Regions from separate parts of the Homo sapiens genome. Here region 2 is linked to region 1. Evidence: promoter capture Hi-C in human tissues and cell types (Jung and others, 2019). All regions are on one chromosome and are shown on one strand. The core of a region is centred on a gene start or on the middle of the fragment in contact, and the rest is flanking DNA. Distances in the headings are between cores, read along the strand shown. Region 1 has its middle 6.4 kb from the start of SESN2. Region 2 holds the start of XKR8 (XK related 8).

Evidence for each region. Contacts are between HindIII fragments. The study calls those that stand out against the background at their distance.
Region 2: a contact is called between the fragment with the promoter of XKR8 here and a fragment that was not itself captured in region 1, in 1 of the 25 tissues and cell types used here (dorsolateral prefrontal cortex).

What each region holds. Positions count from the first base shown.
Region 1 is chr1:28,249,277-28,256,981 of GRCh38, reverse strand. No RefSeq gene overlaps it. Among named protein-coding and RNA genes, the nearest start is that of SESN2, 6.4 kb to the left of the region's middle. RefSeq lists an enhancer at 5,868-6,741. The HindIII fragment of the contact is 5,032 bases long and covers 38-5,069 here.
Region 2 is chr1:27,955,838-27,963,517 of GRCh38, reverse strand. It overlaps XKR8 (XK related 8), which reads right to left and starts at 3,545. Exons shown (of 3, transcript NM_018053.4): 1 at 3,156-3,545; 2 at 1-21. The coding sequence starts at 3,448. SMPDL3B (sphingomyelin phosphodiesterase acid like 3B) reads right to left here. Exons shown (of 8, transcript NM_014474.4): 6 at 7,654-7,680; 7 at 7,436-7,569; 8 at 4,366-5,042. The coding sequence ends at 4,680. RefSeq lists an enhancer at 3,041-3,604 and a silencer at 3,285-3,674. The HindIII fragment of the contact is 22,893 bases long and covers 1-6,914 here.

The DNA of each region.
Region 1 (7,705 bases), core at 1,304-3,803:
GCAGGCAGATCACCTGAGGTCAGGAGTTCAAGATCATCCTGGCCAACATCGTGAAACCCCATCTCTACTAAATATACAAAAATTAGCCAAGCGTGGTGGTGCACGCCTGTAGTCCCAACTACTCGAAAAGCTGAGGCAGGAGAATCGCTTGAACCCGGGAGGCAGAGGTTGCAGTGAGCTGAGATCGTGCCACTGCACGATCTGGGTGTCAGAGCGAAACCCTGTCTCAAAAAAAAAAAAAAAAAAAATCAAACTCCTATCTTAACATTCAAGGTTTGCCAAGATGCACCTAATTTACCCTCCCATTCTTACCACCTGCAACATCCATGTTTCTTGTTTGGCCTTCAAATCTTTCTTTCAGTACTCTTCTTGCAAATCTCTACCCATTGAAATAGTATCCATCATTCAATGCCTTCATTCCTGTTTGTGGCCTGAAGCAAGACTTTAAATGACACCTCCTCCAAAAAGCTCAGCTGAAAGTAATCTCACCCAGTCCTCAACATCTTCAACACATTCTTTTTATCTCTTTCTACCACTGATCTCCAAACTTGGTGTATGCTTGATATCATGTGTATATATCTCACCACTTCCCTCCAACTGATGATAAAAATCTCTCATTGACCACGTGTACAAAGTGAGAAAACTTGAGCTCAGAAAGGTAAAATTGGCCAGGCTTGGTGGCTAACATCTGTAATCCCAGCATCTGGGGAGGCCAAAAGGGAGGATCCCTTGAGCCCAAGAGTTCGAGACCAGCCTGGTCAACATGGAGAAACCCTGTATTCACAAAAACTACAAAAATCAGCAGGGTGTGGTGGCATGTACCTATAATCTCATGTACTTGGGAGGCTGGCCAACATGGTAAAATCCCATCTCTACCAAAAACATAAAAATTAGCCGGGTGTGGTGCGAGAGCCTGTAATCCCAGCTACTCGGCAGGCTGAGGCAAGGGAATAGCTTGAACCTGGGAGATGGAGGTTGCAGATTGTGCCACTGAATCAAAAATAAAAATAAAAATAAAAACAAAAATTGCTTATCAGGGTCACACAGTATCTTCTTTTGACTGCACAAGGCTGTGTTAGAGCACTTTTTTTTTGTTTGTTTGTTTTTTGTGAGACGAAGTGTCCTTCTTGTTGCCCAGGTTGGAGTGCAATGGTGTGATTTCGGCTCACGGCAACCTCCGTCTCCTAGGTGCAAGCAATTCTCCTGCCTCTGCCTCCCGAGTAGCACCACCACGCCCGGCTAATTTTTTATTTTTAGTAGAGATGGGGTTTCTCCATGTTTGTTAGGCTGGTCTTGGACTCCCGACCTCAGGTGATCCACCAGCCTCAGCCTCCCAAAGTGCTGGGATTATAGGTGTGAGCCACGGTGCCCAGCCGGCTGTGCCAATTTCTTAAAATAAGACAATAATAAAGTTGGCCACAAGGATCCACTCTTCCTTCCATGAAAGATTTCTCTGTAGCATGTGATACTGTTTGGTAACATGTTACCTACAGCAGAACTTCTTTCAAAATTGGAGTCAATCTTCTCAAACCCTGCTGCTGCTTTGTCAACTAAGCTTATGTAATATTCTAAATCCTTTGTTGTCATTTCAACAATGATCATAGCATCTTCACAGGAGTAGATTCCATCTCAAGAAACCACTTTCTTTGCTCAGCCATAAGAAGCAACTCCTTAAAGAAACAAAAAAAGAAAAGTCAGCCTGGGCCAACATGGGGAAACCCCGTCTCTACTAAAAATACAAAAATTGGCCAGGCGCAGTGGCTCACGCCTGTAATCCCAGCTCTTTGGGAGGCTGAGGTGGATGGATCACGAGGACAGAAGTTCAAGACCAGCCTGGCCAAGATGGTGAAACCCCATCTCTACCTAAAATGCAAAAAATTAGCCAGGCATGGTGGTGGGTGCCTGTAATCCCAGCTACTTGGGAGGTTGAGGCAGGAGAATCGCTTGAACCCAAGAGGTGGACGTTGCAGTGAGCTGAGATTGCGCTACTGCACTCCAGCCTGGGAAACAAGAGCGAAACTCCATCTCAAACAAAACAAAACAAAACAAAAGAATAAAGAAAAAAAGAATAAAAAGAAGAAGCAACTCCTCATCCATTCGAGTTTTATCCTGAGATTGCAACAATTCAGTCACATATTCAGGCTTTATTTCTAATTCTACTTCTCTTGTTATTTCTTTTTTTCTTTTTGAAGACAGAGTCTTGCTCTGACGCCCAGGCTGGAGTGCAGTGGTGAGATCTCGGCTCACTGCAACCCCTGCCTCCCGGGTACAAGTGATTCTCCTGCCTTAGCCTCCCAAGTAGCTGGGATTACAGGGATGTGCCACCATGCCTGGCTAATTTTTATATTTTTAGTAGAGATGGGGTTTCGCTATGTTGGACAGGCTGTTCTCTTGCTATTTCGAACACACCTACAGTTACTTCCTACATTGAAGTCTTGAACCACCTCAAAGTCATCCATGAGAGTGAAATGAGCTTCTTTCAAACTCCTGTTTATGTTGATTTTTTTGCCTCCTTCTATGGATCACATTTTTTGTTTGTTTTTTGAGGCGGAGTCTCACTCTGTTGCCCAAGCTGGAGTGTAATGGCATGATCTTGGCTCACTGTAGCCTCTGCCTCCCAGGTTCAAGCGATTCTCCTGCCTCAGCCCCCCATGTAGCTGGGATTATAGGTGCGCACCACCACGCCTGGCTAATTTTTGTATTTTTAGTAGAGACGGGGTTTCGCCATGTTGGCCAGGCTGGTCTTGAACTCCTGACCTCAAGTGATCCACTGCATCGGCCTCCCAAAGTGCTGGGATTACAGGCATGAGCCACCACTCCCGGCCTGTTCCATTTATAGAGCACAGGTAGAGTAAATTTAGCATAATTCTTAAAGGCCCTAGGATTTTCAGAATAGTCAATGAGCACTGGCTTAAACTTATAGTCACCAGCTGCATTAGCCCCTAACAAGAGAGTCAACCTGTGCTTTGAAACTTGGAAACCAGGTATTGGCTTCTGTCTCTTTTTTTTTTTTTTTGAGATGGAGTTTCCCTCTGTCACCCAGGCTGGAGTGCAGTGGCACAATCTCGGCTCACTGCAACCTCCACCTCCTGGGTTCAAGTGATTCTCCTGCCTCACCCTCCCTAGTAGATGGGACTACAGGCACATGCCACACGCTCAGCTAATTTTTTGTATTTTTAGTAGAGATGGGGTTTCACTATGTTGGCCAGGATGGTCTCAATCTCTTGACCTCGTGATCTGCCCGCCTCAGCCTCCCAAAGTCCTGGGATTACAGGCATGAGCCACTGCTCCCAACCTGGCTTCTCTTTAGCTATGAAAGTCTTAGATGGCATCTTCTTCCATTACAAGGCTGTTTGTCTACATGGAAAAATCTGTTGTTTAGTGTATCTACCTTCATCAGTTATCTTAGCTAGATCTTCTGGATAACTCACTGCAGCAGCTTCTCCATCAGCATGGGCTGCTTCACCTTGTATTTTTCTGTTATTGAGAAGGCTTCTTTCTTTCAACCTCATGAAGCAAACTATGCTAGGTTTAAGCTTTTCTACAGCAGCTTCCTCACGTCTCTCAGCTTTCCTAGAATTGAAGAGAGTTAGGGCCTTGCTCTGGATTAGGTTTTGGATTAAGGGAATATTGTGGACGGTTTGATCTTCTATCAAAGTCTGAGACCACTCAAACTTTCTTCCTATCAGCAATAAGGCTGTTTGCTTTCTTATCATTCATGTATTTATTGGAGTAGCATTTAAAATTTTTCTTTAAGAATGTTTCGGCCGGGCGCAGTGGCTCACGCCTGTAATCCCAGCACTTTGGGAGGCCGAGGCGGGTGGATCATGAGGTCAGGAGATCGAGACCATCCTGGCTAACAAGGTGAAACCCCGTCTCTACTAAAAATACAAAAAATTAGCCGGGCGCGGTGGCGGGCGCCTGTAGTCCCAGCTACTCGGGAGGCTGAGGCAGGAGAATGGCGTGAACCCGGGAAGTGGAGCTTGCAGTGAGCCGAGATTGCGCCACTGCAGTCCGCAGTCCGGCCTGGGCGACAGAGCGAGACTCCGTCTCAAAAAAAAAAAAAAAAAAAAGAATGTTTCCTGGCCGGGCGTGGTGGCTCACACCTGTAATCCTAGCACTTTGGGAGGCCGAGGTGGGCGGATCACAAGGTCAGGAGTTCGAGACCAGCCTGGCCAATATGGTGACACCCCGTCTCTCCTAAAAATACAAAAATTAGCCAGGCATGGTGGTGGACACCTGTAGTCCCAGCTACTCGGGAGGCTGAGGCAGGAGAATCGCTTGAACCTGGGAGGTGGAGGTTGTAGTGAGCCGAGATCAGGCCACTGCACTCCAGCCTGGGAGACAGAGCAAGACTGTCTCAAAAAAAAAAAAAAAGAATGTTTCCTTTGCATTCACAACTTGGCTATTTGGCTCAAGAGACCTAGCTTTTGGCCTATCTTGGCTTTTGGCACATGTTCTTCACTAAGCTTAATGATTTCTAGCTTTTGATTTAAAATGAAAGACATGCAGCTGGGCTTAGCGGCTCATGCCTACAATCCCAGCACTTTGGGGGGCCATGGCAAGAGAACCGCTTGAGCCCAGGAGTTTGAGACCAGCCTGGGCAACATAGCGAGACTCTGTCTCTACAAAAAATAAGAAAATTGGCTGGGCGCAGTGGCTCACGCTTGTAATCCCAGCACTTTGGGAGGCTGAGGCGGGTGGATCATGAAGACAGGAGTTCAAGACCAGCCTGGCCAAGAGACCAGCCTGGCCAATATGATGAAACCCCGTCTCTACTGAAAATACAAAAATTAGCTCGGCGTGGTGGTGGGCACCTGTAATCCCCGCTACTCAGGGAGGCTGAGGCAGGAGAATTGCTTGAACCCGGGAGGCAGAGGTTGCAGTGAGCCAAAGATCGCGCCATCGCACTCCACCCTGGGGGACAGAGTGAGACTCCAACTCAAAAAAAAAAAAAATAGAAAATTAGCTGGGCTTGGTGGTGCATGCCTGTAATCCCAGCTACTTGGAAAGCTGAGGCAGGAGGATTGCTTGAGCAAGGCACTCCAGCCTGAGTGACACAGCGAAACTCTGTCTAAAATAAATAAATAAATAAATAAAGTGGGTCGGGCTTGATTGATTGCTTGAGCAATGCATTCCAGTCTGGGCGACAGAGCAAGACTCTGTCTCAAAAAAACAAAAAAACAAAAAAATGCATTATCTACAAAGCACAGTAAAGTGCAGCACAATAAAACAAGATATGCCGGCCGGGCACGGTGGCTCACGCCTGTAATCCCGGGACTTTGTGAGGCCGGCCGAGACGGGTGGTTCACGAGGTCGAGATCAAGACCATCCTGGCCAACATGGTGAACCCCGTCTCTACTAAAAATACAAAAAAAAAAATTAGCTGGGCGTGGTGGCGTATCCCTGTAATCCCAGCTACTCAGAAGGCTGAGGCAGGAGAATCCCTTGAACCAGGGAGTCTGAGGTTGCAGTGAGCCAAGATTGCGCCACTGCACTCCAGCCTGGCGACAGAGCAAGACTCCGTCTCAAAACAAAAAGACAAAAAAACAAGATATGCCTGTAGTGAGTCCTTAGTGAATATTTTTGAATGAATGTGTATGAGTTACTCTCCTCTGTTGAATAACTCCTTAGAATCTTTAAGGCAGTCACTAAATCATTCCCAAAGCTTCATTTACATAGTAACTTTGTGAGAAGAAAAAGCAAAAAATTCTTAGAATTTTTTTTTTCTTTTTTGAGACAGTCTCCCTCTACTCACTCTGTCACCCAGGCTGGAGTGCAGTGATGTGATTATAGCTGACTGTAACCTCAAACTCTTGGGCTCAAACTATCCTCCCAAGTAGCTAGGACTACAGGTGTGCACTATGCTGTCCGGCCAATTTCTTTTTATTTTTTGCAGAGACGGGTCTCAGTATGTTAACCAGGCTGGTCTCAAATTCCCAGTCTCAACTTCCTAAAGTGCTGGGATTACAGGTGTGAGCCACTGAACCTGACCCAAAATTCTTTTTTTTTTTTTTTTGAGACAGAGTCTTGCTCTGTCGCCCAGGCTGGAGTGCAGTGGCGCAATCTTGGCTCACTGTAACCACTGCTTCCTGGATTCAAGCAATTCTCCTATCTCAGCCTCCTGAGTAGCTGGGACTACAGGCACATGCCACCACGCCCAGCTGATTTTTGTATTTTTAGTGGAGACGGGGTTTCACCATGTTGGCCAGGCTGGTCTTGAACTCCTGACCTCAGGTAATCCACTCGCCTCAGCCTCCCAAAGTGCTGGGATTACAGGTGTGAGCCACCGCGCCGGCCTTTTTTTTTTTTTTTTTTTAACACAGGGTCTCAGTCTGTCTCCCAGGCTGGAGTACAGTAGCACAATCACTGTTTACTGCAGCCTCAACCTCCCAGGCTCAGGTGATTCTCCCACCTCAGCCTCCCAAGCAGCTGGGACTATAGGTGCACACCACCACACCTGGCTAATTTTTGTATTTTTTGTAGAGACGAGGTGGGGGGTGGGGGGTGGGGCGGTTCACCACGTTGCCCAGGCTGTTATTGAACTCCTGAGCTCAAGCAATCTGCCCATCTCGGCCTCCCAAAGTGCTGGGATTACAGGTGTGAGCCACCACGCCCAGCCTTGATATTATCTTTTGTGACCTGGTCTCCAAAAAAGAAAAGCCAGGAAGAAGCACAGACATTAAGAGTTACTGAGCTCCAGCAAGAATTCAGGATACATCACTGTCTCAGGTAACTCTCACCACAACGTTGTGAAACAGGCTATTGTGTCTCCATTTGACTGATGAGAAAACTGAGACTCAAGAGGTAACACGTCTGGACCAAGGTCAGATAGGTTAGTAATATGCTGAGTAAGGATTCCAACCCAGGCAGGAATGACTCCTATGCAGAAACTCCACCACTCCATTGATGAGACAAACACATGAATATGTAAGAAGCCGGCTGGCAAAAGGAACTGATGCTTAAAGCAGATATATTAATTGGAAGTGAGAAACATAACTGTCAAGCGACCTGTAATTGAGAGGCCAGGGCATTCCTCTTTGTAGGAGAGCCTTTACTGAAAGGCAAATTTATCATCTGAAGGTGGCTAAGGCAGCTGGAATCTGAGCAAGTGAAAGGACGAATTATTGAACTGCTCTACTCAGCAACTATCTGCTGGTCAGGGCTCCAGTTCCTTCCTTCCTTTTTTCATTCAATAAATATTTATTTACCATCTTGTGTGTACCAGGCACTGTGCCTGGCTCTGGGAAATCCAGTGGTGAAGCTAGCAGCCTAGCAGGGCATGGCAGGGTGCCACTGGCTGGGCACATTCCTCCCCTCCCCACTGCCTTGTATTTTTGGTTGGGTAAAGATCTCCTTCTTCTGTTGCCACACTCTCAACTCTTGCATCAGCTATGTTGAGGCCACTGATTGGCCAGCTATTTATATTCCTCAATCACCTTCCAGTCCCAAAGATACACCTACCTAGACTGGATTTGAAATGTTTTTGAGATGTCTTCAGCCTTAGATCCATTTCAGATTATGACCCTAATATGATTGTCATCTGTTCTGTATTCATTCTTCCTGAATTAGTTTTCTAGTCTCAAATTCTGAGATCACTTTACTATAATGACCTTGTAATGGGACCATTCGGGGGGCTGTGATTTATCACCCCAGATGTCATTTTCTGAGCTCTTCTTATTGTTTCCCCCCTCCCCACCCACTA
Region 2 (7,680 bases), core at 2,296-4,795, 290 kb after region 1:
TGCCGCAGCTCCTGCACGCACCTAGGCACCACACACAAATGCCCAGAGGGCCAGGTTAGTGTCCTGTGAATTCCTCAGCCTCCCACCCATCTAATGAGTGGACACAGGCTCCAACCTGTCTCCTCACATCCATGCTATGGGGCCTTCGGCAATGTCCTAACCTCACTGAACTTGTTTCATCTGTAAAATGAGGATCGAGGCCGGGTGTGGTGGCTCATGCCTGTAATCCCAGCACTTTGGGAGTCTGAGGCGGGCTGATCACGAGTTCAGGAGATTGAGACCATCCTGGCTAACATGGTGAAGCCTCGTCTCTACTAATACAAAAAATTAGCTGGGTGTGGTGGTGCGCGCCTGTAGTCCCAGCTACTCAGGAGGCTGAGGCAGGAGAATCTCTTGAATCTGCAAGGCGGAGGTTACAGTGAGCCGAGATCGTGCCACTGCACTCCAGCCTGGCGACAGAACAAGACTCCGTCTCAAAAAAAACAAAAAAGCAAAAATGGGGATCAATACACCTTCTACTCCCGCTGGCTAAGCACTGTCCCAAGCTCATCACAAACCTTGTCCTGTTTACTTCTCACAAAAGCCCATTTTACAGATGGGGAAACAGGATCAAGAAGCTAATAAGGTCTGGGTGCAGTGGCTCGCGCCTGTAATCCCAACATTTTGACAGGCCAAGGCAAGAGGATCACTGGAGGCCAGGAGTTTGAGACCACCCTGGGCAACACAGCAAGCCCCATCTCTACAAAGAATTTTTTTTAATTAGTTGGACGTGGTGGTACAAGCCTGTAGTCCAAGCTACTCAGGAGGCTGACGCAGGAGGACAGCTTGAGCCCAGGAGTTCAAGGCCACTGTGAGCCATGATTGATTGTGCCACTGCACTCCAGCCCAGGCAACAGAGACCCTGCCTCTCTCTCTCTTTTTTTTTTTCTTTTTTTTTGGAGACAGAGTCTACATCTGTCGCTTGTCGCCCAGGCTAGAGTGCAGTGGCACAAACTCGGCTCACTGCAACCTCCACCTCCCAGGTTCAAGCGATTCTCCTGCCTCGGCCTCCAGAGTAGCTGGGATGCTGGGATTACAGGCATGCGCCACCACACCTGGCTAATTTTTGTAGAGATGAGCTTTTGCCATGTTCAGCAGGCTGGTCTCAAACTCCTGACCTCAAGTGATCCACCCACGTCAGCCTCCCAGACTGCTAGGATTACAGGCATGAGCCACCAAGCCTGACCAGACCCTACCTCTTTTTAAAAAACAAACAAAAAATTATAAGCAGCTAATAAGTACTGGAATGAGGATTTGGATCCAAACCTGAATTGGAAAGGCATGCTATAAAGTTGCCTGAGGCAGTAGTTCTCAAACTTTAGTGTGCCCAAGATCTCCTGGGGTCCTGTGGGCAAGAGGACATTTGCCTCTTGGGCACTTCTGGGCACAGGCCAGATGGAATCAGACTCTGCCTTGCCCCGGCCACACAGGGGAGGGGCTGGAGGAGGGTTAGATTGGAAGGAGGGATCCCATTTAAGAGGCTGGCCCTGAGTGGTTAAGGATGGAGATTGGGGCGGAGTTAAGAGAGTCCAGAGTTTGGACAGACAGGTCTGGGGTACCCACTGGCATGAAGAGTAAGTGGAGGATGCACCAAGGACCCTCCACCCAGAACTTTGCTCTCAGTTGCCTATTGGGAGAGAACCCCGTTCACTCATCACAAGCTCATTCACCAGACATGTACTGTCACTTCCCCTGGAAGGACACAAGAACACACTGAGGAGCAGGCAGGCAGGACAGGCTGGGGTTCTCCCTCAGCAGGAGCCTTTGCCTATGGTCCCCAGTGACCTAGCAGGGACCCCTGCCTCGGCCAATTCACAGGCAGGAACAGAGACCCATTTCCAAAGCCAAAGCTAGTACAGTCTGTCTGACTCAAGCTCAGCAGAAATATTGGCCACAAAGATGCATAAGGTAGTTACAGATTCACGGCTCATGGAGGCCTGCCCAGGACTTAACAACTGCACCCCTTCATGCCCACCCGGGGTTTTCTGATGTCTCTATAATCCCTCAGGCAAAACTGCCACATTCAAAGCTCCTCTCTTCCACTCCTGGAGACTCCGTGTGGCTTTGTCAAGGCCAGATCTCAAGAGTTTGTAAAAACGGATTCAAGAGCAGATCCTGGCCCTGGCCACCCCATCCCAACCCACACCACCCTCTGCCCTGACTTTGTCGCATGCCTCTGAGCCTTGGGTTTGTTTTCCCATCTCTACGAGGCTCCACCAGGTCCAAAAAGGAGCAGAATCCACACACATTTTCCAGGACCCAGCCTATGCCCAGCCCTGGCTGGCTCCATGGGCATGGATGAGTCAGAGGCCATCTCTGCCCTCTTGCTGGGTCTGGGGTGGGAAGCCAAGTTTCAGGGGGAAGAATACAACCAGGCAGACAGGGTGAGAGGCGGCCTTTGTGAGGGGCAAGCGCTGTGGTGGGGTCAGGGCTGCTGAAACTCCCAGGGAGGCCCAGGTCAAGAAGCCAGCTGAGGTTGCTGAGTGCTCACTCTGAGCCAGGGCAGTGGACAGATGTCATTTCACTGCATCTTCACCAAACGGGCAGGCGCTATCCCCATCCCAATGGGAACAGCAACCAAACAGCCCCACTGAGAGGTCAGTGACTTCCCAAGGCCCTGCCCATGCTGAAACATGGGATGCTGAACTGAGTCCGCAGCCCCTGCCATTACAGGCCAGGCACTGTGCGAGGCACTTTCTCATTCTTTCGCTCACTCTTCACAACAGGCCTGCCCGTCACACCTGTCTCAGGGTGACTACCTCCTTTCTACGCAGGAGGAAACTGAGGCTCAGAGAAATGCAGAAGTGAGGCGAGAGGGGGCAAAGCCAGAAGTGGATCCCTGAGAGGTCCGACTTCAAAGCCCATGCGCCTCCCTTTCTTCCCTGGGCCTCAGTTTCTTCGCCTGTGCCAGGAAAGCTAGGGCTAGAATGAAGGCAGTCTACCGGGATTCCCTTTCCGTAAAGGGCTGCACGCTCACCTGTAGGCCAGGCGCCCACAGGACTTGGTTCCCTCTCCCAGTCCCCTTCCCGGCATATGGCGTGTCACCTGTACAGGTGACCCAGCTGACGGAGGTGCTGGGCTCCGACACTCCTCCCCTCCCGGGGCGAAGCACTCACCTGTACAGGTAACCCAGCTGCAGGAGATGCAGCAGCGCCAGGCAGCGGCGCGGGGGCTGCGACCCGTGCAGGCCGGCAGGGTCAGCGCGCAGCCAGAGCCAGCTGAAGAGCTGCAGCGCCACGGAGGCCAGGCCCAGCAGCGCCAGCACCAGCGCCGCCCACAGGTAGCGGCCGCCGAGCGCATACTGGACGGCGGCCCACAGGTCGGTGCCCAGGTCGAGCAGGAAGGCGGCGGTGCCCAGCACGCCCAGGACCAGGTCCCGAAGGAGGGCGCCGCGGGACGACCAGGGCATGGCCCGCCGGCCTCCGCCCTCTCCTGCTCCTCCGCGGTTGGGGCCTGCCCTCAGGGCCCGGGGTTGCCGAGGCAGGAAGGAGGTGGGCGCAGCCCTCGGGGCGGCCCGGGGCCTGGGCCTGGTGGGCGGGACTTCCCCGTCCCGCCCCGTCCGGGGAGGAGCGAGGCCCGCGGTTGTCCCAGGTCCTCCGCCCGAACCCCAGCTAAAAGCCGCTCGATGCTCTGCTCCCGCCGCCAGCCCAGGGGTCCACCGACCCAGCCCAGCCAAGCCCGCTAGGCCTGAAGACCGACTGCCCTTCGCTTCGCAGGCTTCAAATGGCCTAGTTTTACCTTTGAGGCGCCCGGAGGCCCAAGAAAGCGAGAGGGCGGGGAGACTAGAGCCTGGACCAGGGCTGCGATCCCTCACACCTGTATTGTTGCAAAACAAAACGAAACGCAAAGGCACATTCTAATCCCTAAGTGCGAGACTTTGCAACAACGCGTGCGCCTCGATCCAGGGATACCCGGAGAGCACGGGGCCGCTGGGTTCACGCCAGCGATCCGAGTCGGGGGAGGGCGGGCGTTAGGTTCCTGCAAATGAGTTAACCTCATTTCCATACGGAAGGGAATAGAGGCCGGGCGCGGTGACTCACGCCTGTAATCCCAACACTTTGGGAGGCCCAGGCGGGCGGATCACCTGAGGTCAGGAGTTCGAGACCAGCCTGGCAAACATGGCGAAACCCCGTCTCTACTAAAAATACAAATTAGTCGGGCGTGTTGGCGCGCGCCTGTAGTCCCAGCTAGGAGGCTGAGGCAGGAGAATCGCTTGAACCCGGGAGGCAGAGGTTGCAGAGAGCCGAGATAGCGCCACTGCACTCCGGCCTGGGCGACAGAGCGAGACTCCGTCTCAAAAGAAAAGAAAAGGAACACAACACAGAATCAAACGCATGATGAGCTTTGTTTTGTGAGTTAAACATAATACGCAAAAGAAGTATGCTTGTAGGGGGGTCTTGGGTCGTCATTTCTTTTCTGTTTCTGGTTTGTTTTTGGAGAGAGTCTGGCTTTGTCACCCAGGCTGGAGTGCAGTGGCGCGATCACGGATGGCTGCAGCTCCTGGGGCTTCGCTTCCTGATTCGGTTGTCCTATTTCAGTTCACTCCTCAGGCGCGGAGGAAATGGTGGAAGGCCCAGCTCTGGGTGATCCTGGGCGCTGCCCCCGTTACCCGTTACCAGGAAGAAGGTGAGCCTGGCAGGTCACAGCACGAGCGTGCACAGGCCCAGCAGGGCCATCAGCAGCAGCGGGAGCTGGGGCACGGGCGTGGTGCCAGAGGCATACAGACAGGTGGTGTAAGCGTCAATGTCCACCTGGCGCATGGCACACACGTGCTGCATGCTGCAGGCCTCGTCGCAGACCCCAGCAGAGTAGCTGACTGAGTTATAGACGTAGTAGCGCTGCAGTGTGCTCTGGTCGCCAGCGATGCGGTCCAGCACTGTGTGCATGGAGTGGGCGCTGGCGTCCGGCACCCCATAGGCCTCGGTCAGCTGGTACTCGAGCTCCCAGCGCGGCGTCCCCTGAGCATTCGCCTGGCTCAGGTTCATGAAGTAGGTCACCATGTCCTGGAAAAAGGGTTTGGGGTAGACCGGCTGTGAGCAGTTGTCTGCTTCCATCCCCATCCTGCACCTTGCATTTGCCCCCAAGTTCTTTAGAGCAGTGACCATGACCACTAGTAGTTATTGAGCACTTAGCTGTGCACCCATTGTGCTTGGCAGACATCCTCTGAATCGAATGAGGTAACTGCGCTTATTACCTAGGTTTCACAAATGAGGAAACTGAGGCCTAAAGAGGTTAATTCACTTGGCCAGGGTCATACAGGTATTCATACAGGTATTCAGTGGTAGCAGGATTGGACCCCAGGTTTACCCCAGGTCCCACCATGCTAGGGTACACATAGAAGACGCTCAGTAAATATTTACATAATGAATAGATAAAAGCAACATAAAAAGAGCAACACTAAGCATGAGAGAGATTATGAACTGTAGACTCCTAGGACCCAGGTGCATGTTCACGGCTAGACTCTGCAGGGTTCATCAGTCCAGCGGGTTCCAGGTACATTTATGAACCTGCTTCAGGCCACTGCAGACGGGGTAAGAGGAGCTGCCCGTATGCATGGCCACTCTGTGCCAGGAACATTCCATTATTTCATGTAGTCCTCCTCAAACCCTGCGAGGTTCTGTTACTCCCATTTTACAGATGAAGCAAGTGAGGCACAGAGGTCAAAAGATCAAAAAGCTTATGAGTGGTGGAGCCAGGATTCAAGCTCAGGGCTGACTCCCTCCCTGAGGAGAATGGAGGGCCTGTTAGGGGGTGATGGTGCAGCCTGCCATTCCCCTTGCTCAGACCCTTGGAGTGCCCATGTGGACAACAGGCCACTCTTTAAACCCCTCAGACCTCTTCTTAATCTACCTTTACTAGAATCAAGGACCTGGGTTAGCTCATGCAGTCGTTGGCTTTAAATGTCCTCTCTCCACTCCCAGATCACATCTCTATCCTCACCTCTTCAAGCTCCAACTTGCCCCTTCCCTGTCCACTTTCACTTGATGCCATTTAGCCCTCCCAAAGGTAACAGGTCCAAAACAAGACCTCTGACTGACCCTCCGAAGCCTGATCACCCTGCCACTTATCTCAGTAATCGGCAGCCACAGCCTACCGTTGCACAGGCCAAGAGCCTTGGAAGCCTCCTGGATTCGTCCCTTTTTCTCACAGCTCATATCCACTCTAGCAAATCCTGCATCCAGAATTCATCTGGGACCTGGCACTTTTCACCATCTCACTGCCTCCACCCTGGGCAAGCTACTATCCTGTCATCTGGGATTTGTCCTTCCCTCCAAACGGCCTCACTGCTCCCCCACCTGCCCCTACAGCCTGTTCCCTGCACAGCAGACATGATGATTCCATAAAATTATAAGTCACAGGATTTCATTCTTCTGCGCAAAACCCTCCAAATCCAGAGTCCTCATGGAGGCCTGCAAGATCGGACCTCCCCTCCCACTCTCCCCTTGTGCCTCTTACTGTGGCCACATGGCCTCCGTGCTCTTCCCCTAACCTACCACGCACATTCCCACCCCGGGGCCTTTGACTTGCTGTTCCCTCCACCTCCCCAAGATACCCACTGGGCTCCCTCCCTCAATACACTCAGAACTCAAATGGCACCTTATGTGGACACTTCCCCTTCCCACCTATCTAACACAGTACACACCTCCCATAGCTGTCACCCTGTCGCCTCACTGTTTTGATTTTCTCCTTAGCCCTTCTCTCAGTACTATAATTAATTCTACATATTTATTGTCCCTCTCCTGTAAGATGTCAGGTCCAGGAGAGGGGTGACTTTGTTTTTAAATTTACATATCTTCTGAGATTAGAACAGGGCCTGGCCAATGGCACACACTTAATGCATTTTGTTGGATAAATAAAGGAATAATATTTTTCATCTCAACAACCACAAGCTCATCCTACGAGGTGAGGGACTGCCCAAAGAATTAGGGGCTGGAGCCTCGTCTGTGTACGGAAAATGTGGACAATGGGCTTGAAGTCAGACTGTGGGAAGCCTTGAGTACTAGGTCAAGGAGACACAACTTTATCTTGAAGGCACTGGGGAGCCACTGAAGGTTTTTGAGCAGGACGGAGACAAGATGAAAGTGGTGCTATAGGAGATTAGTTTCTTCTCTCTTGTGTAGCGGATGGGCCATAGCAGGGCAGGGCCAGAGGCAGGGAGACCAGGTATGAAGCTGTGACAGTCATCCAGGGGAAAAGGTGACTTGGTGAGGCACTGCCCTGACTCGGTGGCAGGTGCCTCCAGGGTTCTGATCCTGAGCTGGAGAAGGGTGGAAGGAGCTCAACCTTCCTGAGGCTCAGTGGTCAGGGGAAGGTGGATAAGCTGAGAGTGAGGGAAGGTGGTGATGCATTTAAGCCCCTCCCACCCTCCTCCTCTGGCCTCCGCAGGACTCCTGACCTTCAGGCTCAGTGTGGCTCGGTCATATTCGAACACCCGGATGGCTGGATTGTTGGCCCCATTGACCACTCCAGGTAATGTGGTTTTCCATGGGGTGACTCCAGGTGTGATGAACATGGCGCTTATGGGGACACCTGTCAGGAGAGAGACAGCAGGACTGAGCGGGTCTGGGGAGAGAAGGAGGGAGGGAGCTGGCAGTTGCCCTCCAGGTTGAATACCTGCATCATCATAGAGCATCCGAAAGC